Linked DNA regions of Homo sapiens: region 2 is linked to region 1. Evidence: promoter capture Hi-C in human tissues and cell types (Jung and others, 2019). All regions are on one chromosome and are shown on one strand. The core of a region is centred on a gene start or on the middle of the fragment in contact, and the rest is flanking DNA. Distances in the headings are between cores, read along the strand shown.

Evidence for each region. The method cuts DNA at HindIII sites, captures the fragments that hold promoters and counts their contacts. A contact is called where the count stands out against the background at its distance.
Region 2: a fragment that was not itself captured here is called in contact with the fragment with the promoter of PAWR in region 1 in 1 of the 25 tissues and cell types used here (H1 embryonic stem cells).

The regions. Positions count from the first base shown.
Region 1 is chr12:79,689,395-79,692,357 of GRCh38, reverse strand. PAWR (pro-apoptotic WT1 regulator) reads left to right here and starts at 1,394. Exons shown (of 7, transcript NM_002583.4): 1 at 1,394-1,486; 2 at 1,967-2,629. The coding sequence starts at 2,114. PPP1R12A-AS2 (PPP1R12A antisense RNA 2) reads right to left here and starts at 2,326. Exons shown (of 7, transcript NR_187531.1): 1 at 1,962-2,326. RefSeq lists silencers at 1,097-1,396, 2,167-2,686. The HindIII fragment of the contact is 10,737 bases long and covers 1-2,963 here.
Region 2 is chr12:80,290,306-80,293,268 of GRCh38, reverse strand. The region is part of intron 26 of OTOGL (otogelin like); the gene reads right to left. Among named protein-coding and RNA genes, the nearest start is that of PTPRQ, 150 kb to the left of the region's middle. The HindIII fragment of the contact is 3,694 bases long and covers 1-2,963 here.

The sequences.
Region 1 (2,963 bases), core at 145-2,644:
AGCTTAGGTAAACAGCCGCTCAGCCTTTTAGACCTATTCCCAACAAAAGCTTTTAATTTTCTAAGGATTTTTCCAGAGCTCTCGCCATACGTTTCCCACAACAGCCAGACCAAAGACCAAAACTGTCTTTCCCTGAGAAATATAGAGCATGTGAATCACTTTCTTCTGTTCCCAGTTCTGTGGCAGGCAAACACTGATTGCTCACTCATCATGTGCTACCTGGGCAAAACAGGAATATTAAGTAGGAAGAAAGGTTTATGTTAGGTAAGAGCGTGACTTAGGGCTCTCCTACTTTTTTACAAAATGGAGACCTGGCATTTGTAGCCTCCCACAATGATGTGCCCTGACATTACTTGGATATAGAAAGGTCAGTCTTAGGTGCGTCAGTGACAGCCCACCCCGCTCTGATCCAGAAATTTCAGATGACTTGCATCAGAGGATAAGCCTCTGGCATGTTAATAATGAAAAAATAGAGACAATCACTGCCCCAGCTCATCTCAAATTAGCATCAGTGCAGCGTTAGTACTTTGGTAGGGAGCTTTGCTGCTAAATTCATTCTCTGTAAAGAGGAGAGGCAGAGACAGGGTTAAGGGGAAAACTCCAAGACTGGAATCGCCAATACAATAAACTGTCGAACTGAGTTTTTTCTCCCGCAACCCTAAGATACTAGTAAGTCCTTCCTCTTAGCCAACCCTTTTCACCAGGGCACCGCAGTTTTCTTAGAAGGAGGGTGCTGGGTTTGTCTCAGGTCTTTCTATTCTCCTGCCCGCTGCCCTAGTACATCTGAAAAGGGAGCAGCGACTAGGAAAAGAGACACGTGGGTATTTTCCCATCCTGTCTAGTCATTCCCTGAATCATCACAAGTTATCGCACTTTTCCCCTTAGCCAGCAGCGTTCGAGACTTTCTCTCAAATAATACGGTCTTGTACTTAAAAGGAAGAGTGGTGGGAGAAGAGAGAGGCGGAGAAGACAAGCAAGAAGGGCGTGGAGTGCCGTTCCCGCCCCGGAGTCGGAGGCGCCGGGAGGCCGGACGCCGCGAAGCTGCTAGCCCAGGAATGTGCCGTCTAACTCGCAGGCCGCGGGCGGAGCGCGGCGGGCGCGCTGTGGTCTGCGGCGGGAGCGGGGCAGAGGACGGCTGGCGCAGGGCAGGCTGCAGCGGCGGGCCGGACGCGACGCCGCGCACCTGAGCGCCGGGGGCGGGGCGTCAGCGGCCACGACCCTTCCCACCGCGCGCCGCGCCCCTCGCGCGCCGCCTCGGCCTTTTCCGCTCGTGCTTCGGCGCCGCTCGGCTCCCTTCCCGCCCCTGGCTCCCTCCCTCCCTCCCTCCCTCCTTCTTCTCCCTCCCTCCTGTCCTGGGATTGCCTGGAGCTCCGCACCGCGAGTTTGCCGCGGCACTTTCCGCGCGGCGGAAGAGCGCGCGCCAGCTTCGGCACACCTGGGAGCCGGATCCCAGCCCTACGCCTCGTCCCCTACAAGCTCCTCCAAGGTAAGGCGCTCGCTCACACCCGGTCCTTTCCACGCTCGGCGGGACAGCTGGGTCCCCGCCTCCTCTGCGAACCGGCTAGGAGCTCCGCGCCTCGCCTTGGGAGTGGGGTTGTAGCTGACGGGGACCTCGGACCGGCGGTGGCTAGAGCGCGGAGCAGGCGATACGACGAGCCGACAGGTGGCGGGTCTAGCCCTAGTATCTCGACCGCCGCCGGCGCGGACCTTGGTGGGGATGGGGCGGGCGGGCCGACTTGGGGGTGGGGTCAGTCCTCTCTCCTCCCTTCTAGGGGCGGCGATCGTCGGGGTCCGTACTGTAGGTGCGTGGGAGAAACTTTGCAGGGTGGGGACCCGGCGGCTGCTGGCCGGTAGTGACTGGTGGGCGCGCTCGAGGACTCCAAGGGGCGCAGCCCGGGGGCAGACCCTTGGGTCGGGCGGGGATCTTACGCTTCCCTTACCCGCCCCCTTTTGTCTTTCACCTCAGCCCCGCCGGCTGCTGTGGGAGCGGCGGCCGTCCCTCTCCTGGAGGTCGTCTCCTGGCATCCTCGGGGCCGCAGGAAGGAAGAGGAGGCAGCGGCCGGAGCCCTGGTGGGCGGCCTGAGGTGAGAGCCCGACCGGCCCCTTTGGGAATATGGCGACCGGTGGCTACCGGACCAGCAGCGGCCTCGGCGGCAGCACCACAGACTTCCTGGAGGAGTGGAAGGCGAAACGCGAGAAGATGCGCGCCAAGCAGAACCCCCCGGGCCCGGCCCCCCCGGGAGGGGGCAGCAGCGACGCCGCTGGGAAGCCCCCCGCGGGGGCTCTGGGCACCCCGGCGGCCGCCGCTGCCAACGAGCTCAACAACAACCTCCCGGGCGGCGCGCCGGCCGCACCTGCCGTCCCCGGTCCCGGGGGCGTGAACTGCGCGGTCGGCTCCGCCATGCTGACGCGGGCGGCCCCCGGCCCGCGGCGGTCGGAGGACGAGCCCCCAGCCGCCTCTGCCTCGGCTGCACCGCCGCCCCAGCGTGACGAGGAGGAGCCGGACGGCGTCCCAGAGAAGGGCAAGAGCTCGGGCCCCAGTGCCAGGAAAGGCAAGGGGCAGATCGAGAAGAGGAAGCTGCGGGAGAAGCGGCGCTCCACCGGCGTGGTCAACATCCCTGCCGCAGAGGTGAGCCGGGCGGGGGCCGCAGCCGGACCGGGCCGGGGCGGGCAGCTGCCTCCCGGTGTCTTCCTCCTGGGAGCTACCCGGGGCGCAGAGTTTACCTCCCCTGGCTCGTACTTGTCCCTTCACCGAGTTAGGCAGGCAGGGGGTGATGGAGTTTTACTCTGAACAAATGCTTCCTGGGAAGTTCCCCAAACTCAGAGTAGGACACGTGCTTTTCAGGCTTCCTGGCCAGGTCTCAGATCCAGGATCCTTTTTTACCGTGGTAGAAAGACAACTTATGGCTCCAGGACTTGCCCACCTGGACTTGGCTGACTTGGCCACCTGGACTTGGCTGTTT
Region 2 (2,963 bases), core at 214-2,713, 600 kb before region 1:
AGCTTTTTGTGTAATATTAAGAGATAGTAAAAGATTTTTATTTACCTTTTGAGTATACGGCAAGAAAAAAAGGGAAGAGAGAGACAGATTAAATTTACCTTTTTAGCTATCTTTATTAAGTTTTAAGATTATTTGGGAAACTGAGTCTCCTGTCTACCAAAGAGTAAAGGTTTTAGCTTTTTAAAATATTTGAATTATCACTTTGATTAAATGACTAATTTTGCAGTTACCTGTGACTCTTATTTTGCAATATCAAGTGTTTTAAGCCTTTGATATTTGATAACCTTTCCAAATTCTAAATTCAGTCTTTTGGCCTCAAACTAACTTTTTGGGTATTAGGGCTCCTGAAGTCCGAGACAGACATATTCATCTTCGTTGGTATGTTAAAATTACACCAGAATCATTGTCAAATATGAAATGGTGTTTAACTTTCTTTGAGTTATTTTTATATGAATGTGTCATTAATATATGTTCCAAAATTATATAAGATTCATATAGTTCTGGTATGTCTTAATCTATGTTATCAGGAATAATTATGACTATTACATTAAATTATTGTATGCCACAGAAATAATCAAATTTCCTTGTCTATTGTGTCTTTAACCGTGGCTAGTCTAAGACTTTTGTCATGCACAGACAATTATTGTTTTACTTTTATTCTTCTCAAAAAGCACTTTATAATCAGCTGCAGTCCACAACTTGCTTCCTTAAGGAAGTTTGTGGAAAGGACTCTGACAGGTGCTCTTGAAGGCAGGTTTCTGATTACTTTGGAGATTGTGCCATCAGACTAGAGAGAAAACTTCTGGGATTCTCACTGGAGGGCAGATGTGTTCATGAGGATTGCTGGCCCAATACTGGGCAGAACAAGAGTTAACTGCATGGGACTGAACTAACAGAAGGCTGAAATGTTTTCTTATGACTTGTTTGTTTGAAACATTGGGCTTCTTTACGTTTTGTTTTCTAAAGTCAAGAAAACATTTCTGCTGGGCGTAGTGGCTCATGCCTGTAATCTCAGCAATTTGGGAGGCCGAGGCAGGCTGATCTCCTGAGGTCAGGAATTCAAGACCAGCCTGACCAACATGGAGAAACCCCGTCTCTACTAAAAATACAAAATTAGCCAGGTGTGGTGGCGCATGCCTGTAATCCCAGCTACTTGGGAGGTTGAAGCAGGATAATTGCTTGAACCTAGAAGGTGGAGGTTGTGGTGAGCCAAGATTGCACCACTGCACTCCAGCCTGGGCAATAAGAGTGAAACTCCATCTCAAAAAAACAAAAAAAGAAAAAGAAAAGAAAAGAAAAAGAAAAAAAAGAAAAGAAAATATTTCTTTCTTTTGAGCTATTTATAGCTTACAACAAATTGAGTAAAGTATGCTCTTGTGAGCAAAATTTGAGGCATATTTCTTTCTATCTGATTTCTCCAGAATTTAAAAATCATTTGTGAGTATTCTTAAATTATGGCAATATAGCTATTTGCATAAGTTCAATAAGAATCTATTTTCTGTTGTAACAGGAAACAGTTGGAGACGCTGGTTATTTTACCACAGCTTTGACTAGGATGGAATATTTACAGATATGACTGGACTGCTTTGGGGAATTTAAGTTGACATTATAGAGCTGACCAAAGCCTCTCGTACAGACTGGCCTGACACCTTGTTTATGCAATTCCTTTACAATGTTTGTGACCTGTAGTAAGTAAAGCACATCACTTTCTGACAGGCTTAGGAACCCCAAGTTATTTTAGAACCTCAAGAAGAGAGAAATTAACCCAATTCATATAGGTATTTGCAGGCACATATAAATCCTTAGCTGGCTAACCTCAAGAGGCTTTTAAAAGGTCTAATCTGAGATTATGAAAAAGTTACAACAAAGCCAACGTAAAAGAGCCTATATGAACAATAATTATTCTTGCTGCATTTTATGCAAATAATCAAGCCAAATATACTACGATTAAAACTTATTTTGCAAGTACATTGGTCCTGTTATGATTTGTCTTTCATAGAAATGAGGAACTGAGAGAGAGAAAAATATCATTTGAAAAGAAACTATGGTACGTCTTTTATTAGTTTCTGGCCTTGTCCATTATTTATTAGTTGATATTATTTCTCTACAATTAAACATAAACACAAGATTATAGTTTCCTCTTGCCAGGACTCAGAGTTAAGACAAATACTCTACTTGAAATATTTTCTGCACAATCAGTATTTGAAATGACAATGATAAATGCTACATTTTCTCTACTAAAAAAAGAAAATGAGAGTAACAGGAGAAAATACTAACAAGTAGTTATTGAGTTCACCAAATGCCCAGCATTCTGCAAAATGACTTAGAAAGAATAACAAGAAATATAAGGCATTGTCCCCACCATCAAAACCTTAGAATTTTCTTAGAGAAATCTGTCTTAATATGGAGTATAAATAGTAGATATGTCTTTACTGGCATGCTTTACATTTAATAGGCCCCTAAAATTGTTTTATTAAATGAATGAAATAATAATGTGAACAAAGATCACCACCATACATTGGAAAATATTTGTAGAGATGCTGAAACATGAACAAGATTTTTAATGCTTTTGGTAGAAATGTGCAAATATTTTTTCCATATACAAAATGAAAAATAAAGCTTCACAGAATCTTTGTGTTACTACTTAAAATGATACCATAAACAAACATCTTTAACAGTAATGATATATCCAATGGGAACATGTCATGTTTGACATTATATTGTCAGCAAAACTTTCTTTTTTCTGAATGTAACTTAAATTTGACTATGCAGAAGAAGAGAAATAATTTCAAAAATAATTAAAATCAGGTTGTTAAAGAAAGTAAAATGTTCTACATCCTTACTACTCAAAATATGGTCCATAGACATGGAGCATCAGCACTATCTAGTAGCTTATTGAAAAGGCAGAACCTGGGGGACTTGGCAAGATGGCCGAATAGGAACAGTTCTGGTCTGCAGCTCCC